Regions from separate parts of the Homo sapiens genome. Here region 2 is linked to region 1. The links are contacts of gene promoters, found by promoter capture Hi-C in blood cells and fetal thymus (Javierre and others, 2016). All regions are on one chromosome and are shown on one strand. Each heading gives the region's core, a stretch centred on a gene start or on the middle of the fragment in contact. The rest is flanking DNA. Distances are from core to core; before and after follow the strand shown.

Region 1 (5,557 bases), core at 2,615-5,114:
GGAAGGATCAACTCAATCAGAATTTGGTGAGGGCATAGGAACTGAAGTCACGCTGTTCCACATTTAAGCAATGCCACATCCTGTATTTTATTACCAATGATAATTTTTATTTTCTTATTGTCTTTGAATGCTTTTAATCTTTCCCTTTGTTGACAAATAAGACCAATACAGTTTTGGTGTTTGCCATGGTTTGCATATTTGCCCCCTCCAAACCTCGTGTTGAAATTTCATCCCCACTGTTGGAAGTGGGGCCTGATGGGAAACGTTTGGGTCATGTGGGTGGATCCCTTATGAATGACTTAATGCCATCCTTGCGGTAATGAGTGTGTTCTCTCTGTATTAGTTCCTGGGGGAGCTGATTCTTTAAAAGAGTCTGACACCTCTCTCCCTGCTCTCTTGCTCCCTCTTACCATATGATCTGCACACGCTGGTCCCCTTTCACCTTCTGCCATGAGTAGAAGCAGTCAATGGCCCTCACCAGAAGCAGATGCTGGTGTCATGCTTCTTGCATAGACTGCAGAATTGTAAGCCAAATAAACCTCTTTTCTTTATAGATTACTCAGCCTTAGGTATTCCTTTATAGCAACACAAAATGGACTAAGACAGTGTTCCTCTAATTACTGATGAAGGAGTTGAGAGAATGCCTAGGTCATATTCTGGGTCCAAGGATAATGAATCCCAGAAATTTCAGAGCTTTGGGGCAGGTGTTAGAAATTCTACTATATCAAGCTTTTCTACTGACAAAAAGAAGAAAGAGAAAGAAAGAAAGAAAAAGAAAAAAAGAAAGAAAGAAAGGAAAGGATCTTCAAGAACAAATTTCTTCAAATCAGGTACGAAGGTCATTAATTTCTTCCTTGTTAGTTGGTAATGTTTTTTTTTTTCTACTCTAGATCAGCAGTGTGGGAGGTGGCTAAAATAGGGAGAAGCTTGTGAAACTATACTATGCCTTAATCTTGGTCAAAATATATAACTTTGATTTGTTACCAGCCTTTTTTTGTGTGTATTTCTATGACTTCATGCAGATACAATTCTCTGAAATATGTAAGTCCTAGCAGACTTGTCTCTTTTTAAATGATTCTAGGACCCCAAAATATCATCACCACTGAAATTAAGATGTTGGCACTGGTACTAGAATCAATAAACACAATGCAGATGCTACTATGGTAGCATATTAAAAGAATTTGAAAAAGTTGAAAAAAGATTTTCATCTAGCAGAGCTTTGGAGAAGAGCAATTTATTGTATCACAGACCTCAAGTGACTGATAAACACTAAAAATTACTTCTAATAATCATTTATTTCACAAATATGACTGCTTACTCTGGGCTATTTATAGTAGTAACAATGAAAATAGTGTGCTATATTTCTTCCATAAAGACTTTTACTACAAAATAACTGTCAGAAGGGCATGGGCTCCACGTTGCCTTTTTCTAGTCATTATGGTTATCCATGCTCTCTTATTTGTTCTGGTGTAAGTCCAATAGCATACTAATTCAAGACCATCTGTTGGGATTAAGATTGTGGTGCATTGTTTCTCTGGGTGCAAAACTAATTGTCTTTTATAGATTGATGAAACTGAAGATTTTATTTTGCATAATCTTCCCAATTAATTTAGTGCTGATTTTCACGCTTGAGAATGAGAGGTGGCAAATCTTTGGTTTGAGTTACCCTATTTAATGTTGGAGAATGAAAGGGAATGGATGACTAAGTTGGACTCCAACCTCCCACCAACTTTAATCAAAACAGCTCCAAGGCAGGAGGGCTTTAGTCCATTTCCCCCATCTAGGAATCACCTGTTTGCTTCTTAGTGGCATTATTATTCTGCATGTTTTTAACCTGCCTCAGCAAAAAGAGAGTTGACCTGAAAAGATGCTACTTCCTTGTCTCTTGATTCTCATCTTACAAAAGTAAAAAGTGTGACTAACACCCATAGGCTATCAGGTAAATACATGGTTGTTCCCTAGGAAATTCCGTTGTTATTTCTGCATTATACCCACCGTTTCTTCTTTCTGTTACCAAAGCCTCACAAAACTTCCTCAGTTCCTCGAAACCTGTTTTGTGAGGAGGAGACAGTGAAAACACAGACGTTCGCATAGATACTTAATGATGCAGTAGTTGTTATAAGTGAGGCTCACAGGTCTTACCAGCCTGAGTTAAAAGTTCATTTTGCCATTCTCTGGTTTTAGTATGACAGCGGACAAGTTACTGAACCTCTCTCTGCCTCCATCTTGGAAAAATTCGAATTCTTACAACATCTACTAAGTACAAGGGGTCCTGGAATAATATTTTGTTCAATGTCATTTTGTTATAACATTGATGAGAAAAAAAATTCAATTCCTGGGCCAGGCTCACTGTGTGGAGTTGACATGTTTTCCCCATGTCTGTGTGGGTTTTCTCCAGGTCCTGGAGTTTCCTCCCACATCCCAAAGCTTTGCCCATTAGATGCATTGGTGTGTCTACATGGTGCCTGTCTGAGAGAGTGGGTGGGTGTATGAGTGCCCTTTGACAGTACTGCATCCTGTCCAGGGCTGGTTCCTGCCTTGTATCCTCAGCTGCTGGGACAGGATCTGGTCAACCGTGACCCTGAACTGGAATATGCAGGTAAGCAGTTATCTTGTTTTTATCAATCTTTCATAAATGTATATATAGCTTAGATTTATTTCAATGTTTATTATTAGAGGTGTTTTGAGTATTTAGAGGTTTAGTGATGTTTTTGTGACTAGGAATATGCCATAAGAGCTTAACTCTTATTTATATCAATTAGCTCTTGGGAAAATTGTCTTCATTATCAATTGTTTCACTTTATGTCACAGTTTCCAGAACCTACAGAGGACATTAAGTGAGGACTTACTGTATATAGGTGGTTGTGCTTGTGAAGGATTAAATGAGGTAATGTGTGTGAAGCACTCAGGACAGTGCCTAGCACCTGGTAAGTGTCCATGAATTGGAGGCTATTATTGCTGTAATAAGGAAATTCATACACATTAAAATGGCTAAGAAAGTTCATTTTAAATAACCGTAACATGCACATTTGTATTGCTTTCTCGGATGATCTTGCTATTCTCTATTTCAGAGGAAGTCCGTGGAGAAGCCTGCCTGTTAGCTGTCTAGGGGTCAGGTGGCTTCTTGGCAGTATATATTACATGATAAACATTGACTTAATATGGACCATAACCACAAGGTAGAAAATAGGGAAACAGGGAGTGGAAAAACCACAGTGATCCTTTCCTAGAGAGAGACCAAAATATTAACCGCTGTAAACCTCTCATGTTACAGTTCGAACACATCTTAATAAATGATTAAATCTACTCTCTCATTTCATAAGTGGGGAACTGAAGCCCCCATAAAAGTTAGGGGCAGAACTATGACTATACTCAGACCACTCTTTCCCTGTATATTATATATACCTTTTATTATAAAAAATTTCAAAAATCACAGAAATACAAAGACTAGAACAATGCACACCTATGTACTCATCATCCAGCTTTAATAACAATCAAACTGTTACCTCTCTTAAAAAAACAGCTTTGATTCTGAGTCTGGTGTCATTTATACTCCTTCACAGAGATGTTCAGAACCAGTATCTTAGAGCACATCCCCCAGGCAAAGAAATGTAGCAATAAAAAGAGAAGGACATAGCATGAGAAAAAAAGGCAGGCTGTCAACCAATGCCTAAAATGTAGAAAGTTCTCTCAAGTTGTTTTTACAATAGTCTGGAAAACACAGTCTCATTCTGAAAGGACACTGTTCCTTTAAATTGCTTACTGATCCCACCCAGATCTTGCACCCTGGCCAAATGCCTGACCACTCTTGCTTTGACTTAGTCGAATAAACATGAACAAAAGACTGCAAAAGATCCTAAAGCAAAGACACTTTTATTTCCCACAGAACAGAACAATATCAAATAGCTAACTTCACCCCCAACCACAGTCCTTGCTGTTGGCATTTACTCAACTAGTCTTTAATTCCTGTTTGACAAACTTTATAAGGTAAGACATAACAGATTTATTTTAGTCACTTGAAATCAGATAGGACCATCAAGGAACTGTGGAAGACTAAATGACTTACTTACATAATTATTAGGTGAGAAAGCTTGTCAATAGTTTGTATTCTCTGCAATTACTTCAAATCAATTATTAGAAAAATATTAACATTGTTAAAATGTAGAAATTTAAAACTTAAAATTATTTTGAAATGGATTTTTAATTTACAGTCTTCTAAATTGTTTTACAACGATGTTAATATATTTTAGGACATCTTTTTCTTAATTTGGAACAGGGTTTACAATTCAGAATTAGTTATAGAATACTTTACAACTTGGCTAATTTGTCAATTTGAATAAAGTCTTTATTCAATCATTTTCTATTTGTGTAGAAACTGAGATGCAAACATTGTAACTAAAGTTGGTGAACTCTGATATAAGATCATTTTATTTTTGAAAAATTATAAAAAATAAAGTATCTTGGATTTATTTACTGATCCTGATATTTACCCCAAATAAATTTTAGGCCAAAAGTAAAACTACGGTATTTGATTAATAATTATGATTGTTTCTGCATTTATAAAATGTAACCTATAGTAAACACAGAGGTTCACATTTCTTTCACTTAACTAATGGCACTGTTTCCTCTGAAACCTATTTTGCTTGTACGTGACATCAGAAAGAGAGAAAGGTGAGAATTATTAAAAACAGAGGCAAAATAAAACATGGTAAAAAGTGATTAGAAATGAGTGGGCTCTCAAGATGCCAAATTAATAAACGAGAAAGATATTTCAGGGAAGCAGTAGAACTAACAAGCTAGAGAAACAAATCTAGAGAGGTATGAAAATGTCCTCTGGCTACAATAGGGAAACAGAAAGAAATAACAAGACTTTGGTTTGGGAGAGCTAGATTAACAATGTCAGAGCAAATAAGAACAAAATATGAGATACTGGGATTATTGTCAATGGAAAAGTTATGTTTGTGAATATCATATATACAGGGATCAGGTACAAATTCATGATTATATGCCAAGAAAACAGTAAGAGCAGGTGCTTAGTTTTGGGAAAAGATAAATCTTTATTTAAAGCCAGTATTTCTAAAACCTTACATGAAGGGTTTTGAAGAGTTGCTTGATTATGTTGCTTATAAAATCTTGCTCAGTTCTCAATGGAATTCAGTTCTCAGCCTCTTATTTCCAGAACTTCTGAGATGTTCCTTATGGTATGAACTCAACCAAAGAGAAAAGTCATATGTAATACCATGGCCATGGTGTTATTCCCTTTCCCCTTTGAAAATGCAATAACAACTGTGTTTTTCACATAGCCTTATCTTTACACTAACCTTCAGACTTAAAGTTGTACATCATTTATTTTTTTCCTTGGTTAGCAAAGGGACAACTTGAGGAGAGATGGCCTTTGTGTGTTCTGTTTCCTTAGCACATTTCTTGGTTTTGTTTTGTTTTTAATACCCAGCTGTCTTTACATTTTAGTATACCTTGTCTGAGGATCAGTTGGCATTTGGCCAATTGCTACACAAGATGTTTGGTCATACCTATCCAAAGTTCTTTTAATACACTT
Region 2 (5,474 bases), core at 2,015-4,514, 760 kb before region 1:
TTGAACTCAGCTCTGCACCAAGCGGACCTAATAGACATCTACAGAACTCTCCACCCCAAATCAACAGAATATACATTTTTTTCAGCACCACACCACACCTATTCCAAAATTGACCACATACTTGGAAGTAAAGCTCTCCTCAGCAAATGTAAAAGAACAGAAATTATAACAAACTATCTCTCAGACCACATTGCAATCAAACTAGAACTCAGGATTAAGAATCTCACTCAAAACCGCTCAACTACATGGAAACTGAACAACCTGCTCCTGAATGACTACTGGGTACATAACGAAATGAAGGCTGAAATAAAGATGTTCTTTGAAACCAACGAGAACAAAGACACAACATACCAGAATCTCTGGGATGCATTCAAAGCAGTGTGTAGAGGGAAATTTATAGCACTAAATGCCCACAAGAGAAAGCAGGAAAGATCCAAAATTGACACCCTAACATCACAATTAAAAGAACTAGAAAAGCAAGAGCAAACACATTCAAAAGCTAGCAGAAGGCAAGAAATAACTAAAATCAGAGCAGAACTGAAGGAAATAGAGACACAAAAAACCCTTCAAAAAATTAATGAATCCAGGAGCTGGTTTTTTGAAAGGATCAACAAAATTGATAGACCGCTAGCAAGACTAATAAAGAAAAAAAGAGAGAAGAATCATATAGACACAATAAAAAACGATGAAGGGGATATCACCACTGATCCCACAGAAATACAAACTACCGTCAGAGAATACTACAAACACCTCTACGCAAATAAACCAGAAAATCTAGAAGAAATGGATAAATTCCTTGACACATACACTCTCCCAAGACTAGACCAGGAAGAAGTTGAATCTCTGAATAGACCAATAACAGGATCTGAAATTGTGGCAATAATCAATAGCTTACCAACCAAAAAGAGTCCAGGACCAGATGGATTCACAGCCAAATTCTACCAGAGGTACAAGGAGGAACTGGTACCATTCCTTCTGAAACTATTCCAATCAATAGAAAAAGAGGGAATCCTCCCTAACTCATTTTATGAGGCCAGCATCATTCTGATACCAAAGCCGGGCAGAGACACAACCAAAAAAGAGAATTTTAGACCAATATCCTTGATGAACATTGATGCAAAAATCCTCAATAAATTACTGGCAAACCGAATCCAGCAGCACATCAAAAAGCTTATCCACCATGATCAAGTGGGCTTCATCCCTGGGATGCAAGGCTGGTTCAATATACGCAAATCAATAAATGTAATCCAGCATATAAACAGAGCCAAAGACAAAAACTACATGATTATCTCAATAGAGGCAGAGAAGGCCTTTGACAAAATTCAACAACCTTTCATGCTAAAAACTCTCAATAAATTAGGTATTGATGGGACATATTTCAAAATAATAAGAGCTATCTATGACAAACCCACAGCCAATATCATACTGAATGGGCAAAAACTGGAAGCATTCCCTTTGAAAACTGGCACAAGACAGGGATGCCCTCTCGCACCACTCCTATTCAACATAGTGTTGGAAGTTCTGGCCAGGGCAATTAGGCAGGAGAAGGAAATAAAGGGTATTCAATTAGGAAAAGAGGAAGTCAAATTGTCCCTGTTTGCAGATGACATGATTGTATATCTAGAAAACCCCACTGTCTCAGCCCAAAATCTCCTTAAGCTGATAAGCAACTTCAGCAAAGTCTCAGGATACAAAATCAATGTGCAAAAATCACAAGCATTCCTACACACCAACAACAGACAAACAGAGAGCCAAATCATGAGTGAACTCCCATTCACAATTGCTTCAAAGAGAAAAAAATACCTACGAATCCAACTTACAAGGGATGTGAAGGACCTCTTCAAGGAGAACTACAAACCGCTGCTCAAGGAAATAAAAGAGGATACAAACAAATGGAAGAACATTCCATGCTCATGGGTAGGAAGAATCAATATCGTGAAAATGGCCATACTGCCCAAGGTAATTTACAGATTCAATGCCATCCCCATCAAGCTACCTATGCCTTTCTTCACAGAATTGGAAAAAACTACTTTAAAGTTTATATGGAACCAAAAAAGAGCCCGCATCACCAAGTCAATCCTAAGCCAAAAGAACAAAGCTGGAGGCATCACACTACCCGACTTCAAACTATACTACAAGGCTACAGTAACCAAAACAGCATGGTACTGGTACCAAAACAGAGATATAGATCAATGGAACAGAACAGAGCCCTCAGAAGTAACGCCGCATATCTACAACTATCTGATCTTTGACAAACCTGAGAAAAACAAGCAATGGGGAAAGGATTCCCTATTTAATAAATGGTGCTGGGAAAACTGGCTAGCCATATGTAGAAAGCTGAAACTGGATCCCTTCCTTACACCTTATACAAAAATCAATTCAAGATGGATTAAAGACTTAAATGTTAGACCTAAAACCATAAAAACCCTAGAAGAAAACCTAGGCATTACCATTCAGGACATAGGCATGGGCAAGGACTTCATGTCTAAAACACCAAAAGCAATGGCAACCAAAGCCAAAATTGACAAATGGGATCTAATTAAACTAAAGAGCTTCTGCACAGCAAAAGAAACTACCATCAGAGTGAACAGGCAACCTACAAAATGGGAGAAAATTTTCGCAACCTACTCATCTGACAAAGGGCTAATATCCAGAATCTACAGTGAACCCAAATTTACAAGAAAAAAACAAACAACCCCATCAAAAAGTGGGCAAAGGACATGAACAGACACTTCTCAAAAGAAGACATTTATGCAGCCAAAAAACACATGAAAAAATGCTCACCATCACTGGCCATCAGAAAAATGCAAATCAAAACCACAATGAGATACCATCTCATACCAGTTAGAATGGCAATCATTAAAAAGTCAGGAAACAACAGGTGCTGGAGAGGATGTGGAGAAATATGAACAACTTTTACACTGTTGGTGGGACTGTAAACTAGTTCAACCATTGTGGAAGTCAGTGTGGCGATTCCTCATGGATCTAGAACTAGAAATACCTTTTGACCCAGCCATCCCATTACTGGGTATATACCCAAAGGACTATAAATCATGCTGCTATAAAGACACATGCACATGTATGTTTACTGCGGCATTATTCACAATAGCAAAGACTTGGAACCAACCCAAATGTCCAACAATGATAGACTGGATTAAGAAAATGTGGCACATATATACCATGGAATACTATGCAGCCATAAAAAATGATGAGTTCATGTCCTTTGTAGGGACATGGATGAAATTGGAAACCATCATTCTCAGTAAACTATCGCAAGAACAAAAAACCAAACACCGCATATTCTCACTCATAGGTGGGAATTGAACAATGAGATCACATGGACACAGGAAGGGGAACATCACACTCTGGGGACTGTTGTGGGGTTGGGGGAGGGGGGAGGGATAGCATTGGGAGATATACCTAATGCTAGATGACGAGTTAGTGGGTGCAGCGCACCAGCATGGCACATGTATACATATGTAACTAACCTGCACAATGTGCACATGTACCCTAAAACTTAAAGTATAATAATAAAAATAAATAAATAAATAAAATAAAAAAAAAGGAAAAAAAAATTAAGAAAATTTATCTTCACTGACTCAATGTACAAATAAATAAATGATAGCAAGGCCAACTGCAGCTCTAAATAGTAGAGAATATAAATGATTCAAGCATAAAATGGTCAGAGTTCCCTGAATAAATATTTTCCTACAGTCATGTATAAATAATTCTGATTTCTGTCTGAACCACCTGTCTGCGTTCCTAGGGAAACTAAAGTGAATACATGCCTGTCTGTGACTCTACTCCCTGTATCAAAAGCCAAAGTGGACACAGCTACAGAGGGGAGAGAGGTTGTCTCCACATTCTGTTGTTGGATCACTCTCTTATTCACAATCGTCCCAGAAGCCATAGACAATAAAGGAAGGAGGAGCTGATGCAAAGGAATTGGATAGGGAGGTTCTCACCCTTCCATGTGTGCGGATAGTTTGGGTGTGTTGTAAAGACTCCAGACCACGCTCCAGACCATCTAAAGTTCCGGCTTCCATTTCTAACTGCCCTTACTAGAGCCTTAGGAAAAGCATTTAAATGCACTGCGACTTGGGTTGCTTCTCTTACATAGTAAGGAAAGAACCAGGAACAGACAAGATAATAATGATGATAATTTTTTTTTTTTTTTGAGACGGAGTCTCACTCTTTCGCCCAGTCTGGAGTGAGTGGCACAATCTCTACTCATTGCAACCTCTGCCTCCCAGGTTCAAGCAATTCTCTTGGCTCAGCCTGCTAAGTAGCTGAGATTACAGGTGTGTGCCACCACGCCCGGCTAATTTTTGTATTTTTATTTATTTATTTATTTACTTTTAACAGAGATGGGGTTTCACCATGTTGGCCAGGCTGGTCTCAAACTCCTGACCTCAGGTGGCTGCCTGCCTCGGCCTCCCAAAGTGCTGGGATTGCAGGCGTGAGCCACCACACCCGGCCAATGATGATACTTTTAAATAGTATTGAAAAAAAGAGAATTAAAGCACCATGGTGGAGACCGAGACTGGGAATGGTGAGAATTCTGAGTTAACCATTTTGGAGAAGGATTAAACTGGAGGTGCCGGTCACTCTGCACTAAAGGAAATATTAAGATTCTACACATCACAAATTGAGAATTTAAATGTGAGAGGGAAATAGTATGCATTTCATAAAAGTACACTTGCTTATGTATTCATTTATGTATAAAAAATTAGAGTTGTGGGAGACAAGAGAACTAGGATTCAGAAAGCAGGGGTAAGGACCTCACCACCATCAAAGGGAAACCAAGAAATTATGACAAACAAAATGAAGATTGAGATTTACCCTGCCTCTGTCTATATTTACAAAAAGGGAGCTCAAATCCCAGCTGATGTGTTGTCAGTTCCCTGGGTTCGAAGCCAGAGAACTCAGTAGTTCAGGGGTGTGCTTTTATTTCTGGATCTGTCCTGTCTAGCACAGAGGTTGACGCAAGAGTAGGAGTTAAATGAGAGGATAAACAAATTAATTTATTTATTTTTAAATTTACACCTCCACTAATCCAATCAATTGCATGGAAGTACATCTGCTTCAGAGAAGTAGCGACAGAGCCAAAGGAATTTGGAGCTCTGTTTATAATACTGCATTTACAAGAAAAGAGTTATCAAAGTGTCATTCTCTGAAAAACATGTTGCTCATTCACCTACTTAATAAAAAATAAAAATCTAAAAACTCATGATATAAATAATAAAGTAGAGAAACCAAATCTGAACAGTTAGGTTTCCAACTGGCCACTGGTATATTTTCAAATGGAAAAGGCAGCCATTTTAAAAACAAGACTTACCAAGCCTTTGGGAAAGCTTGAAGGTAGCTAAATCTGTCATTGGTATATGCAGCCACCAGATGTCACTATTGGCTTAAGCAAATATGCTCTAGCTCGCTGTCGGCTAATTCACACTATTTGTAATCTTAGAGACCTT

Evidence for each region. The method cuts DNA at HindIII sites, captures the fragments that hold promoters and counts their contacts. A CHiCAGO score of 5 or more calls a contact.
Region 2: a fragment that was not itself captured here is called in contact with the fragment with the promoter of COL28A1 in region 1 in 1 of 17 cell types (fetal thymus); the score reaches 5.2 in fetal thymus.

What each region holds. Positions count from the first base shown.
Region 1 is chr7:7,534,180-7,539,736 of GRCh38, reverse strand. COL28A1 (collagen type XXVIII alpha 1 chain) reads left to right here and starts at 3,864. Exons shown (of 35, transcript NM_001037763.3): 1 at 3,864-3,987. The HindIII fragment of the contact is 1,663 bases long and covers 2,430-4,092 here.
Region 2 is chr7:8,296,181-8,301,654 of GRCh38, reverse strand. The region is part of intron 3 of ICA1-AS1 (ICA1 antisense RNA 1); the gene reads right to left. Among named protein-coding and RNA genes, the nearest start is that of ICA1-AS1, 37 kb to the right of the region's middle. The HindIII fragment of the contact is 4,184 bases long and covers 1,173-5,356 here.